Linked DNA regions of Homo sapiens: region 1 is linked to region 2. The links are contacts of gene promoters, found by promoter capture Hi-C in blood cells and fetal thymus (Javierre and others, 2016). All regions are on one chromosome and are shown on one strand. Each heading gives the region's core, a stretch centred on a gene start or on the middle of the fragment in contact. The rest is flanking DNA. Distances are from core to core; before and after follow the strand shown. Region 1 overlaps WDR7 (WD repeat domain 7). Region 2 holds the start of ONECUT2 (one cut homeobox 2).

Region 1 (7,149 bases), core at 1,739-4,238, 410 kb after region 2:
AGGTGCGGTTGAGATGGCTAAAAATGCTGATCTGGGCTGGGAGTGCAATCACAGTGTTTATTGATTTTTGTGCTTCTGTTGCACCAAGCAACAAGAGCGTTCCCAGGAACCACTGGCTTTCCCCTGCCATCTCTGGCAGGGAAAAACTACCTGGTGACAGGATGGCCACATCCTGCAGAGCATGTGTGCGTGCCTCTGAATCGACAGATGGCACGAGCGGGTTCTGCCCCTGAGAAGCATGCACAAGTGACAAGACCCGGCCGTGCCACTGGATGGCACTGGGGTGGGCAGGCCCCTGGGAACAATCTGGTGTGAGGAAGGACAGAGCAACATCGGCTTGGATAATTTAGAGAACTAAAACGCAGTCACGGCGGCAGGCAGCAGCATTAGACCATGAAGCGGTGCTCCTTCCCGTCATGGGCCATGAGGATGACGTTGCGGTTGGAAGTCCAGATGAGCCGGGCCAGCTTGAGGGCATTGTGGGAGCCGGGGGACGCGGGCTGCACAGGGGGCACCTGGTAGGTTTTAATGCAGCGCAGCTGAGGTGCCGAGTTCAGCATGCCGATGCTTCCCAGCAGTGACGTGTTCATCTGGAGGGACAGGAGAGCACATGTGTCACTTGAACAGCCCTCTCCCTTTCCCTATCACAGAGACTGGGTCGATCTCTCCTGGCTACTTTCCCCTCCATCATGGTTATTCTCCTTCACCTAAGCTTGTTCTTAACCTCTCAAAAGTTCCTTTCAGTGTGCTTGGAATTGTTCCGATGCTGTTATGGTAAATGCAGAAATCTAGAGGAATTTTATAGGGGTAGAACCTGACAAAAGGAGAGTCCATGGATCTTTAGGAAGAGGGCTAAATTATACCTCTTAATAAAATGGTTCATTTAGACAACACAGATATTTGGAAATTGTGGATATTTAAAACTGAAGACTTTCATGTTCTTTACCACAATGCTAACTGCACTCACTCCCTGAAGGATGAGTCAGCGAAGACAAGTTTTGGGATTTGTAATTAGTTCAAGAAAAGGAAGCAAAGTTAAGCAGTAGATAGAGTGACAATTGGATCAAATAAAGCTCAAGACTCCCTTCCACCCCCATTTCCCACCTACTAATACCTTCACTCTTCACTTGCTTTTTAAAAACTCGCTTTCTGGAAAGCTCTTGCTTATTATAAAGTGCAGAACCAGAATCAATTTCATCTCAACACTATGTCTGTGCCTCACTGTTTTGCTATCATACTAAGGAGAGTCTGCTGTTAATATTTTATTGACAATACCTTTTTATCAATTGATAACTTCTGCTTTTTGGCAGTTTTTCTGGATTTAAATTTTAGGTTTTCTTAATCCAGCCACATAAATGAAAAACAACATGGAAATTATGAATCATGAACAACTATGCATTCAGGTTGAAGTACTAAATACTGAATGGTAGCTGTCTAAGTGAACTGTTTCCTAAGCAACTGAGTCTGAAGATTTCTTTAGATTCTAAATATTACTTAAAATATCTTCAATAGCATTATGTGTGCTATTATAATATCACATGGAAAGAATACTGAAAATCTGGAAAGAAGCCTTGGAAATAACACTTTTTCTTTGTACTAATTTTCATTTCCAATGCTTCTCTCCAGTATAACCTCCATCTCGATGTAAGATTCTAGAGATTTGCATGAAGCATGCAGATTATGATCCAACATCTACAAATGGTTGATCCATGAAACTCTGGCAAATCCTAGGACATTTAAGATGCGTTATCACTGACATCATCCCCTGCATGTGGATCAGTGCAAAACACAAGCCATTCCTTTTTCTAGCCCTTCTCAGCAGCAGGATGGTGTCAGAGGGCGTAAATCATGGCATCTCTAGCAGAGTGTGTGCAGGCTCCACTGACATTTTCACAATTTAAATCATCTTGAGTAATAACCCTTTTAAGATGACTAATGTTACTGATTTTCCTGCATTAATAATAGCGCTGAACACAACACAGAGGTGAAAAAAAATCACTAGTGTACGAGGTCACATTTTAAAACCAAATGTATGGTTATTGTTAACTCTTTCTGTTAAAGTTCGGTTCCTGTTTCCAGCCAGGCAGTTCCTTACTGTCACCCTTTCAGAAGCGTGTTTCTTTGCTTCCTTCTCTCCTTTTCCCAAAAACTTCACAGAAGATAAAAATCAATGCCTTATTGCTTTCTTGGATGTTCCCAAATAGTTAAAATATAAATAATGATGATGAGCTTAATTTGATAGATCCAAATGACACAGAAGATTGCTGGTTAACATTAACTGGCATCAACAGGCGTAGTGTGTTTTAGAAAAAATCTAATTTCTCAGTTGATAAATAACTACAAGGTATTTTTCATTCTTTATGGATTTTCTATGAATATATGTATGAAGCTTGACTTCTGCTGGTAATTCAAAATGCAAGGGGCATATAATGCTCAGACACTTCCTTATTTTTAATTCCTCTCTTCAAATTTAGCCAGGAACAAAAAATGGGTTGAGAGCTAAACATGAAAAGGGAGAGAATATCTCATGGGAATACTCTAGATGTAAAGATTTTAGAAAAGGCCATTACAACTGGGTTCCTCTTATAACCTGAGCCATCCCTACTTTGATAAATGCCTTTGGTCAGGTCAAATAGCCTTCCTGCCTGAGAATAGGGATTTGTGAAATTCTATAAGGGACATAACTATCATAGTTCACATATCCCTATTCCTGCCTGAGAATAGGGATATGTGAAATCCTGTAAGGGACATAACTATCATAGCTCACATATCCCTATTCCTGTCTGAGAATAGGGATATGTGAAATTCTATAAGGGACATAACTATCATAGCTCACATATCCCTATTCCTGTCTGAGAATAGGGATATGTGAAATCCTGTAAGGGACATAACTATCATAGTTCACATATCCCTATTCCTGTCTGAGAATAGGGATATGTGAAATTCTATAAGGGACATAACTATCATAGCTCACATATCCCTATTCCTGCCTGAGAATAGGGATATGTGAAATTCTATAAGGGACATAACTATCATAGCTCACATATCCCTATTCCTGTCTGAGAATAGGGATATGTGAAATCCTGTAAGGGACATAACATGTGGAACGATAAAGACCCCCATGTTCACTAAAATGCATTGCTCAAGATCATCCTTTCCCTATGACCTCTTCAAATTCGGCATGAATGTGAAGTATTATAGTAACGGTATTAATTTTTCCAATAAACTCAGACAAATGACTCTCTCTGAAACAACTAACAATTTTTTCAATATTAATGTTTTCTTGAACAGCGACTGGATACAAACGATGCTCGAGTAAGGACATCTTGAGCCTTGAATGAATGCAAACTATGTGGAATTATGAGATTTGGTAACATTCACTTTTTCCTGATTGCAAAGATAGTAAATACTCATTGTGGAAAATTCAAATAATAAAGAAAAGTACAAAAAGGAAAGCAAAAAACCCCTGAAATATCTTTTCCCAAAGACAGTCACTGTTAAAATTTTGGTAAACAACCTTCCAGACCTCCACATATACATAAAGATGAAGAGAAGCAGAGTTAATAAATTTTATATAAACAAGCTTATATTAAAATGTAGTTTCATAATTTGCCTTTTTGTTCAACAAAATGCTGATGGCAGTCTTCTCTTGTTAATGACTACAAATTTACATTATTCCTTTTAAATGGCTGAATAGTATTCTACTATACAATGGAGTAAATAAAAATAAACGAAACCAGTATCTACCTAATTTATTATCAGCATTTCTGAAAAAGGATATTTGCTGGACAGTGGTGGTAAGATTTGGGTGAGAGAATTGTGACTGTATTTCATTACTAAACTCCTCCTCTTGCTCAAATGCCAATGGATACAGAGAAGTGAAATATTCAAATTGTAGAAAACGGGGTTAGAAAATCAAAGGGCTTGAAAGACTGCCAAATTACATCATTTGATAGATGAGAATGTAAATTCACTCAAGTGTAACTTTGGCTTTTTTCTTCCCTTCAAAAATAAACGCTTCACAAAACTGGTTCTTTGAAGATTATTTTCTGAACACACAGAAACACAGCTATAATTCATCACAACAGGAAATGTTTTAATGCTATTCCCAATGTAAGTAATGCTGCACACAGACCTTACTAAGTCTCACTTGAGTAATTATCCAACCAATATTTCTCATTAACACTCATTTCTCAGCAAAGATTTTAATAGCTGATAGCTTTAGTAAGGCTCTGTATTAATAAGACTTCATTAACTTTTCAAAATATATTACAGTACACTTACTGGAATAATATAAAAGTATTCTGATACATCATTACAACGAAACAACATGTATCTAAATAAATCAGCAAAGCCCATTTGGGGAGAGCAGCAGTAGATCTAATACTGTTTTTTGGACTCTTAATTCAAATAAGACAACTACAATTCTGGAAGAGATTTCATTGCATTTTCCTGAGAAAGCTGAAAGGACTTGTTTTTGTATCTTCCATTAAAATTTCAAGACTGAGTTTGGTACAACATAAACATGAAGAAATGGGCTGTATGTTAAATTCCGACATTGGTTTTAGAGGCAAGAATGACCTGGGTGTTGCCTGGGCTGCTTTGGCTTTGGCATGTGCAAATAACAGGAAGCAGCCCTTGGAGTAGGTGAGCTTGTGGATTAAGGACATGTACTGCAGCCCCACTGTGTGCAAAGCCACGTGTCCAGGCACACAGATGTGAGTGCGCTTGGCAAAGCCCAGAGTCAACAGCAGGAGGCTTCAGAGAGGAACTGGAAGACAAAAAGATGTTACCTGAAAAGGAAGCCATCTAATAAACGAGCTTGGTCTCTAAGTGAAAAGGATGTTACCCATAATCCCATCAGTGACCTGGGCAGTAATTTTGATATAAATAGAAAAATATTCAAGGAAGGGATGAGCATATCCAAATAAAACCTTGAAGATCTTAGGGGAAAAAGATAATTTAACATTTAGAAAATTTCATTTAAAATACTCCTGAAAATACTGGGAAAAGTTTCAAATCTGGCTAATATGTGAGGTATTTCTTATATAAGAAATTATGTTTTCTTAGCAGAAAGAAAGTTGGAAAAAAGAGATGTTTTGTTTGTTTATTCCAAAGAAGAAACCCTGGACAGAACACAGGTTTCTGGCAAGCACGGACCCATGACTTACTGATCTCTGTGTCTCTAATGCACAGGCCAGTACCTACCACTCAGACATCCAATAAATGTGGAATGAGTGGAGCTTTATATAAATATTCCTCCAAGATCCCAAGAGAACAGGAAATAAAAGAAAATTTGTATGAAGGTACAGCTGACATAACAGAGGCCATTGAGTTAGACACGAGTGGCGGCGGGGGGGACCCCAAAAAAATCAGTAGGTAAAATCCTTAAAGAACCACTGCTGCAAAAGCCCAGTTTCTGGACACCTAATGGAATCACTGTGGAATTTCAGGAGTGGAAAACACCAGTGCTGTGGATACTCACTGGGAAAATGAGGGCTGGGTGAGATCTCTGATAAAGGGAGTTTAATATGAGCGAATTAAGATGCTGGAGATATATTCTGGAAGAAAGGCTAATGAGAAAATAAACTGGAAAACTAAATTAGATAAAAGTAGAAGAAGTCTGACAGATTTTGAAGTTGTCATGCTTTAATAGCACGTTGTTACTTAAGTAATTTATTGTATCCATTTTACATTTTATTACCTATTGATTTTTTCCAACTATCACCCAGTTATGCTGAAGCCTTGTTTAAACTTTTATTTTGTTTTGTTTTAGATTTCAAAGCAATAAACTGAATCTCATAAAACATACTGGCATTCTAAGAAAATAAAGGTAACAACAAAATTTTAAATTAACTTTTTTGGGGGTGTTTAATTTCTTGGTAATTTTCAGGACTAAAAGAGTAAGGTAATTAAAAAGAAGATGGGATAGAAATTAAGCAGTGAGGATCAAACATATTCTATTGCCAAAATTAGTTGCTCAAAATTAATGTTCATTTTATTCAGAACTAAACATAGGCATTCTCATGAACTGCTTACCAAAGACTACGTGAGATCTTAAGAAATGTTCTGAACAGTTTGAGCATTATGAGTATTATGTGGGAAATTCAGAATGCAAAGAAAAATGAGATAATTATAAAAGGGACATGAGGTGAACACTAGGAAAACACCTTATTATCCTATGCCCTACACCCTGTTAGAGTCACAGACCCAGGGACCAAGTGTGAAGGCCTCGTGTAAATGAATAGCTGAAGCCAGCGAGGCTTCTCCTGCCCGATTCCTCTCAGGCCAGGCCCTCAAACATGCCGGCCCTTGCTCACGGCTACTCATGCACCTGTGCCCCCTTCTTAACCACCCACACCTCCTGACCCACCCTGAACACTGAGCCCTTCCTCCACATCACTCAAGCCTCAGTTTAGGTGTCACTTCCCCTGAAAAGCCTTCCCACCACCTTATTCTCAGGCTCCCCTGGGACCATAATTGCTTGCTTATTTATGTATGTCTACTTCAGACTGCAAGCTCCATGAGAGCAGATGCCCCTCTTTCCAGATTGCTAATTGTATTCTCAGCACCCTGCATGCTAGTGCCTGGCACATCATCAGCAATCAATACAGACTGGATGTTTGCTGCAAGGAGGGAGGGAGGACAGGAAGGAGGGCCGGCAGGTAGGCTCAACAGGAAGGCTTACTACCAAAGGCATATCACGCAGTATATGCTTTAAGACCCTGGAGCATCTACTCTTACCTGCCAAAAAGAAATGTGGCTGTCAGTGTTTGAGTAGGTGGCAAGATATCTTCCATCAGGAGCAAAAGCCACTGCAGTGATTGGTCCCTTGTGTCCATGGATTGTCTAAAATAAAATTCAGATATCATGAATGATAAGCATTTCACAGGACAATTACAAGTACACACACAAATGCATTCAATGTTGAACAAGTTACGTCATGGGTATTAGATGCTGTTATCTTCTTTGTTTATAAAATCAGCTTAGAAAAATAAGCAAAGCAACAGACGTTCTCTCATTGAGGGAACTCTCCAAGGGCTTCAATCTTGTTCTGAGGTGTCCACCTGCCTCCTAGTTGGGGAGGGCAGCATGAGCCCAAAGAAAAAGCATATATTAATAGGCAAACCAATGTGCTAATTCATTTAT
Region 2 (7,632 bases), core at 3,657-6,156:
CCAACGCCCGAGAGTGTGTGCTCGAACCCGCAGAAATTTGTCTTGGCCGCCTCTTGTCAGGTTGCTGAAAACCGCCCTGCAAGGGCTGGTCTTGGGGAACCTCTGCGAAGGCCCGACCGGGCGGGGTTGCAACCACCTGCCACTTAGCCGCCCTTTCCGAACGAATCCGTGCATTTGGAGTCAATTTCTCTGAAATCTAACGTTGGGGCAATCTAAATTTCTCCGAAGTTTTCTCCCTTTTCCTTTCAAGTGCCACCCTTGGCTGTGACTACACCGGCAGGCTGGGCAGGAAGGACCTGCCTCTGTTGTGACCTCGCCTAAGGGTGAGCTTTGCCGGCGCTGGCCAAATCAGACCTCTTCATTCTGAGCCCCCTAAACCCCGGCCTGCTTGGCTGTTTGGCAGGACCCGGGGGCGGGGCCAAAATGAGAGAGAAAGGGAACCTATAACCTATGAGAGAAAGAGAAGAGGCAGGTTTGGCGGGAGGGGGGCAGGGACGGTGTCTTCCAGGCACCGGTCTGAGAGTCCGGCCGAGCCGCCTGCGGAGCGGCTGGGCTTGTTAAACCCCCGGGGCCCAACGGCGAGGGCCCTCTGCGGCGTACCGGCGGGGATTCCGATCGATACTCCGGGCGGAGAAAGCCTCCGCTTTTCTTCTCCATTTGCTCCTGTCCCCTAGCGCTCCGAGCACATAATACCTACTTACCAGTCCCAGCTTCTGCATCAGTGTCTGAAGAGACTGATCTACTGACCCCAAACTGAAAAGCCTCCTATGTAATAATAACCACTCAACACACTTGTAGTTGCTGATAAAATGGCCAGATAAAAAGGCTAAAGCTCTTGTCCCTTTTCAACCCAGGGTAATAAAACAGACACACATTTGAATGCTCGAGCAAAGCGGGGTCCTCAGCAGGCCTTTTCCACTCGCTGGAGGAGGCATTCTGTCTCCCACGAAGGCAGCTTCAGCGATCCTCTGCGGAAAATCTAGCAGCGTGGGCAGTGCTGTCCCGGGCCTGTCCCTGCAGACTTGCACCATGGGCGCGGGTGGGGCTGAGGACCCCCGGGATGCCACGCTTTCTCATCTCAGCAACGCTTGGGATCATTTTAAAAGCTGAAACTCGCTAATAGGCGAAGCATTACTTTCCTCATCACTTTCAGACCTATATGGGCAGAAGGCACGTGTTTTTTAAAAGCTGTGTTCTTTGCGCGACCGGCATGAGGGGGCGGCAGCGCTCTGAGATGAGCAGGAGAATAGCTGTCATCCTGCCTTTAACTGTACCCCTAAGACCAGCTGCCAAGTTCCTTCTGGTCCCCGGTGCCCAAGAAGCCGGCGGGTACTAAAACCCACCAGAGACAGCCTGGGACATTCGGGGGGATCTATGACAAAATGTTAAGAACTGTCAGCCAGTCTCCAGTTCATTTCCCGCCGCTATTATTATCGCTCTCTACTGGCTGCTTTATCTTGCCCCGAACCAACAGCAAATCAGAGAAAACTGTAGGAGAGGATGAAAAATAAACTAAAGGAGAAAGATTACATAAATTTCTAAATCCACTCAAAGTATCCGGAGTCCGCCGATTTGGGGGAGGCTCTTTGCAGGGAAACCTAGTTTTCTTTACCTTCTTAGATCAACACTGCGGGGCGATTACCGACTGGGAATAGGAATCCACCAGCAGACGGCAAAGGAAAATGCTGTCAAAGCGGAAACTCCCCCTCCCCAAGCCCGGGTGAACCTGCTGCCTGTCACATTCCCCAGCCCTGTCGGGCGTTGGTCGAGTGCACCCCACAAGCTGGGCTCAGCGGTGCGAGGAAAGCCCGGGGGATCGGGGGTGGAAACCTGAGCTCGCAGCTCCGGAAGCGAGCTGTGCGAGGCTGGCTCGGAACCGCGCGCATCCCAAGACCCGCGCTATGCAAATCATCGCCACCACGAATTGTTCCCCTAGACCGCCCGCCGATCCTGAAAGATACCCCCCTCCACCCGATCCATGGGAAGTCGCCCACCCTGGCTTGCCATAGGGTATAGTGTGTCCTTCCCAGCGGGGGACCTGGACATTTTGCCCCTCTGGGCCCGTGGCTTGCTCCTAGGGGCAGCGCAGTCGCCACGCACACCGCGCGGGGTCCGTGCGCACAAAAGCGCGCAACTGCGTGCCAGTCGCAGTAACTACTGCATCTTTCCCTCTAGCTCGCGCACCCGCCGCCCACACAGGAGGTTTCTGTGCTCCTAGAACAATAGAGGGCTGTACCTCGCAGCTTGGCCGCTAGAGGAGGCACAAAGAGCCGAGCCGGCTCCAGAACAATGTAACCCGCGCCTCTACCCGTCCCCTCCCGCGGGCCGCCAGTCCTCCCCGCGGTCGCCAGGCGCGCACAATCAGCGCCCGCTTAATGCAAAGGCGGAGCCTGCAGCCGGCGGCAGGGATGCATTAACTAACCTGAATTTTTAATTTCTCAGCACCTCTTCCTGCGAGTGCTCAGGGTCTCCCGGAGCCCCGGCAAATCCTGGCAAATCCCAGCAAACGCTGGGACCGGGGCAAGGACGGCCGGTGAGCAAGGCAAAGCGCTTTCCACCTCAGTCTCTTCTCCCACGTCCTCCCAAAGCGGTGAATGTGACCTTCTCAACCTTACACCCTGCCCTCGCTGTAGGTAGTGACATTGGAGCTGGCCCGAGCCCCTCAAGCCCGGTCAGAAAGTCCCTGCGCCAACGCCAAGGCCAGAGATGGGCTCCAGGAGCGCTGTTGTATCCTGGCCGCCGGTTCCCCGCGGGGGCAAGGCTGTGCCTTCAGCCAATGACCAAATAAGTTTGCCTATATGGTGGGTGGGAGAGTAGAGAGCTCTTTTCCCTCTGCAGAGCAAAGCCTCTCAACTGCCTCTGCACAGGGAGACTAGTCAGCCCGGAAAATTGAAATGTGTTGTCTAAAAGAGACTTGAAGTGCATGGGGTTTTGAATAAGGGCAGGTCCTGGTTTCTGTGGGTCTTGGAAAGACAGGGCTCCTAGAGGAAAACGCACACCCCCATCCCGCCTCCCAGTACCTGGGAAGATCGGAAATAGGGCAAAGGTTGGCACATTGAGGGGAGGGCGAATGAAATGGGGGGGGGTCGGTCAATGAAAGCTCAGGGACAAGGAGAGAGTAAGAAAGAAAAAGAAAAGGGAGAAGGGAAAGTAGGGGAAGAGCGGAAGAGAAAGAGAAAATGGAAGAAGAAATAAAAACGAGAAGAAAGAGGACGTGTATAGGAAAGAGAAGGAAAGAATCAAGAGAAGTGACTCGGCGCGCAGACTTGGGCCACAAGCACCGGACCCGGAGCCCTCTTCCCAGCAGCCTGGCCCCTGGCTAGCCCCGGCCTTACCTGCCAGGCGTAAGGCGGACATGCGCTGGAACTCGGGCTCCTGAAGCCACTTCCACATCCTGCGGAAGGTCTCCCTGCCAGATTTGAGTTTACTCCACGGTTTTGGATTCCGGAGCAGGTCGGAGAGAGTCCCCTGAGACCGGCACAGCACCCTCTGCGCAAAGATCGCCTGGGGGATACTGTAGCGCTTCAGCTCCGCTGTGATGCGCTGGGCCACCTCTTTGGTGTTGATTTCTTCCAGCTGGCCCGACGTGGCCACCTGCGAGCCCGATGAGGACGAGGGTGGCCGCTCGCGACTGGGTGCCAGCACCGGCCCGTGAGACTGAGTGTGGCCCGGGTGGTGCAGGCCGTTCAGGTGCGACATCATGGCCGCAGGTGGGGTGCCCAGGCCGCGGGACAGGTGTTGCTCACCGCGGGTCAGCATGGCAGTGTGGTGCGCGTCGAAGTTGGGGCTGAGCATTTTGTCGTGGCCCGGCGGACCGTAGTTGGGCAGACTCTGCTGCGCGTTGTGGAGGCCGCCTAGCCCGTTGCCCAGCGGCGTGGCGGCCAGCGGGGACAGGCTCTGGCTCATGCCGGGCATCTCCTTGTAGGGACTGTAGAGGTTGTTCATGGCCGGGAGCCCGCGCTCGTCGCGCATGAGGGTGAAGCTGCCGCTGACGTTGCCGGACAGGCGCTGGTGGTGGTGGTGGTGGTGGTGGTGCGGATGGTGGTGCGGGTGAGGGTGGTGGAACTTGTCAGACACGGTGGAGATGGGTGGCAGCGGCTGGAGCGGTGTCAGCGTGGTGTAGGTGTTGCTCATGCCCATGCCAGGCGGAGACGAGTCGCAGGACATGCTCATGGCGTGGTGCAGCGGGATGGAGAGCTCGGGCCGGTAGTCGCCGCCGTCCAGGATCGAGGCCATGCTGGTGACCATGGCCGAGCGCGACGCCGCCGCTGCCGCCGCTGCCGCCGTGCCCAGCTCCTGGTGCGCGGTTGGAGGCGGCGGAGGGCCCCGCAGCGAGCCAGCGGCGCCGCGGCCCGCGTGGTGGGGGCTGGGGCTGGCCAGCAGCTCCTGCTCATGGCCCGGGCCCCCGCCGCCGCCCCCGCCGCCCCCGCCGCCGCCCCCGCCACTGCCGCCGCCGGCCGGCCCGTGCAAAGTGCCCAGACTTTCCATTGTCAGCTCCGGGTTCATGGCGCAGCCTTCTAGGTCTTTGGTGAGGCATCGATAGGCGGTGTAGGCAGCCTTCATTCAGTCCATCAGGGCCCGGGGGCGGCGGGGGCGGCGGGGGCGGCCGGCGGGCGGGCAAGGCGCGCGTGGCGGGGCTCGGCTGCGGGAGTGGGGGCGGGCGCGGGAGTGAGTGGAGAGGAGTGCGCGTGCGGGTGTGCGCCCCGGGCTGCGGGCGGGCTCGCCCGGGGTGGGGGCGGGGTGGGGGCGGACGGGGCGTGCGTGCGGGAGAGGGGAGGGGACGGGGAGGGAGGGAGGGATCACCGGGCCCCGCCGCTCGGGCCGGCTCGCAGCCTCGCCATGTCCGAGCCCGCTCCGGCGCCGACGTCTTCTGTTTGGGTGAGCGGGAGCTGTCCAGAAGGGCTCTGCCGCTCGCCGGGGCAGCCAACCTACCCTCCCGGACCTGGGGCGGGGCCACGCCCGACGGGCGCCAAGCGCAACCACTCCGAGGCCGCAGCTGCCCCGGGAGGCGGGCCTTCCACGGGAAGCTACCAGTGGCTGTGGAGGGGGCGGGGCCGCACTTTTCAGGTTTGGCTGACGGCTCGGTGCCTTTTTTACCTCCTTTGCTACTGGAATCAAACGTCAAGGAGAGGGAGGGAGGAGAAGGTGGGGGGGTCGCTGGGGAGAGGGAGGCTGGAGTGCGAGCGAGCGAGAGAGATTCGGTGAAAGATGCCGTGCTGTGTCCCCCCTGAGCAGCTGCGATCTGGGGGAAGGGGCATTGCTTCAATCGCCTTCGCCTCACCCCAAAGCTTTCCTGGAGGCGAGTAAGCCGGGAGCAAAAGACTCCGCTATGTGCCAGTATAGACAAACACTCGTCACTAACAAGCCACTTACCGAGAGTCCCTAGCTGGGAGCCAATAGTTTAGCCTTTTAAAATGCAGGCGCTAATGTATTCTAATGCATGGTAAATTCCCGAGGCCGGGACATGCATAATCTACGCGGTCAGAGCAACTGTAGTGCCCTCGTCGCCAGCGAGCTGCGGCCGGCCGGCGGCCCACGGGCGGCGCGGGCAGCAGTAATGCATGCAAAGTTAACACAATAACATCATTTAATTACCCGGTGAGCCCATAAATCTCAGTTATGAGGCTTCCGAAGAGCCCTGCTAGATTGCAAAACAAAACTAGAATTCCGGGAGCTGCCGTTTCAAGGTGACCAAGTGCTTTCTGCATCAGCGACTTGGAAAGAAGTGGGGAGAGTGTAGAACCGGTGAGGTGGAGGTGAGGAGGGTCGCTGGTGTCCCAAGTGAGCAAACTTCTCCTGGGGGCAGAGAGTAAGCAAACCAGCTGAGACGGCAACCACGGACCTTTCTCCTAACACGAGACACACACACGCGCACACACACACACACACACACACACACACACTCCCGCTTCTCTCAAATCCCGGGAGAGAAACGGCGGTGGGCAGACGACAAGGAATCCTGGCTGACACCTGCATATTCAAACCTTGTTTCTGAAAAGACCAGCGCCCCGGCCAGCCTGAGAACGCTCACAAGCCAAGGCTTTAAAAACCGCACCTACGTCTTCCTAGAATTTCCGTTGTTTGGCAACCCCAGGTCTGGAGGTGGGAGTGGAACTGGGGGACAGAGAGTTGGAGATTTCTGCAGTCCGAGTCGGGGTGGAGGGGTAGTTGAAGACAGAGAGGCCAACACCCGGCATAAAGCCTTAAACGTAACAAGATTCTTCCAAAGCAGGTTGCGCTCTGTTTGCCTCCGAAGATTCAAGCTAGCTGAGGTTGCGCAGATGTTGCCTTTGTTTAAAGAGACAGTAATTAAGGACAGGGTGGACATAAGTTTGAGAAGCGTGACCTATTTTCTTTTGATCAGCTGTCAAAAGAAGAGCAGGGGGTCTCCTTAAGACAGCCCCCTTCAACCACTTCCAGCTGTTAGAGAAAACTTGATAAGAAAACAAGGGCAGAGCTCGGAATACTGTATGTCCCTTCTTGGTGCCAGAGAAAGGTTTGATTCATTTGGAAAACAGTTCTTAGTCTCAGTGACCTTTTCTGCCGCCCTCCTCTCTCTTCTTGCTTCAGAGCAACACCCCCACCCCCACCCTGTCACATGAATGTACAGTGACGTTATTCATAGATCAACTTCATTGAGCTCTGGCCAATACGCTGCCAATTATTCTTTCAAATAGCGTCTTCTCTGTGTTATCAAAGCCTGAGTAAGAAAGCGGCAGATCCTCTGGTTTGCCAGACATACTTTTCTGGTTGCTCACATCTCTAGTGTCACAACAGGAGCCAGGTAAAATAACTCAGATTTTGGTTTCTCTGTTTTTCCTCTCCTCCTCACCCCCTCCTACTGTCTCTCTTCGCACTCCCTACCTTATATATGGCATCTGGACACTTGGGATGATTTGAGTCAGTTAATGTTTGAAATATAATACTGAGTTGAGCAAAAGTTCACGAGAGTGCAACCTGTTCTTGGTCCATGAGTGCACAGGGACTGAAATACAGCAGGAGAGAAGCAGAACTGGGAAGTAGTGGGTCTGATATGCCCCAGTGCTAAGGTAGCCTCTGCTGCTCTGCTGGCTTCAGTCTCAAGGAGTGGCCAGTTACCCTAGGCTGATGCTTCCTCCATACAGAAACCTAGGTATATAAATTGCCATTTAAATAAATTTTCAAAATGTTAAACTCATTTGCCAGGACACTGAGATAAACCTGCTTTTGGGAATTATATTTCGGTGTGCCTGGGAGCAGAAAGGTGAGTTGCATTTTCTCGCTGCCTCGCTTCCTTCCTTCCTCCCTCCCTCCTCCCTCACTCCCACCATCCCTCCGCCTTCCCTCGATCAATATTGGCGATCTCAGGGAAATCATGAAATCGTATTGGCTTCTTTGTGTATAATTTCATTGGACTAGAATTAAAGCAGATTTTTCACGTTGTTTTTATAATGGTGGTTTGAGGTTTTATGTTTCAACCCAAAATCCATTTAAAAGGAAAATGGATGTGCTTGTTTAGTGAGCACCCTAATTTTTACTGAATTAGGTTTGGATGCCCTTTTCTCTTTCTTTCTAAAAAGGAACAATATTTGTTTTTTACTTCAAGACAATTTTTGGAGTATCAATACTAATACGATTTTCAAGTATTTTTTG

Evidence for each region. The method cuts DNA at HindIII sites, captures the fragments that hold promoters and counts their contacts. A CHiCAGO score of 5 or more calls a contact.
Region 1: a fragment that was not itself captured here is called in contact with the fragment with the promoter of ONECUT2 in region 2 in 1 of 17 cell types (erythroblasts); the score reaches 6.1 in erythroblasts.

The regions. Positions count from the first base shown.
Region 1 is chr18:57,020,445-57,027,593 of GRCh38, reverse strand. It overlaps WDR7 (WD repeat domain 7), which reads right to left. Exons shown (of 28, transcript NM_015285.3): 27 at 6,745-6,849; 28 at 1-590. The coding sequence ends at 387. Among named protein-coding and RNA genes, the nearest start is that of WDR7-OT1, 16 kb to the left of the region's middle. The HindIII fragment of the contact is 1,194 bases long and covers 2,392-3,585 here.
Region 2 is chr18:57,432,648-57,440,279 of GRCh38, reverse strand. ONECUT2 (one cut homeobox 2) reads right to left here and starts at 4,906. Exons shown (of 2, transcript NM_004852.3): 1 at 3,336-4,906. The coding sequence starts at 4,563. RefSeq lists enhancers at 638-1,393, 2,150-2,905, 5,020-5,599, 5,600-6,180 and a silencer at 4,977-5,026. The HindIII fragment of the contact is 9,553 bases long and covers 1-5,290 here.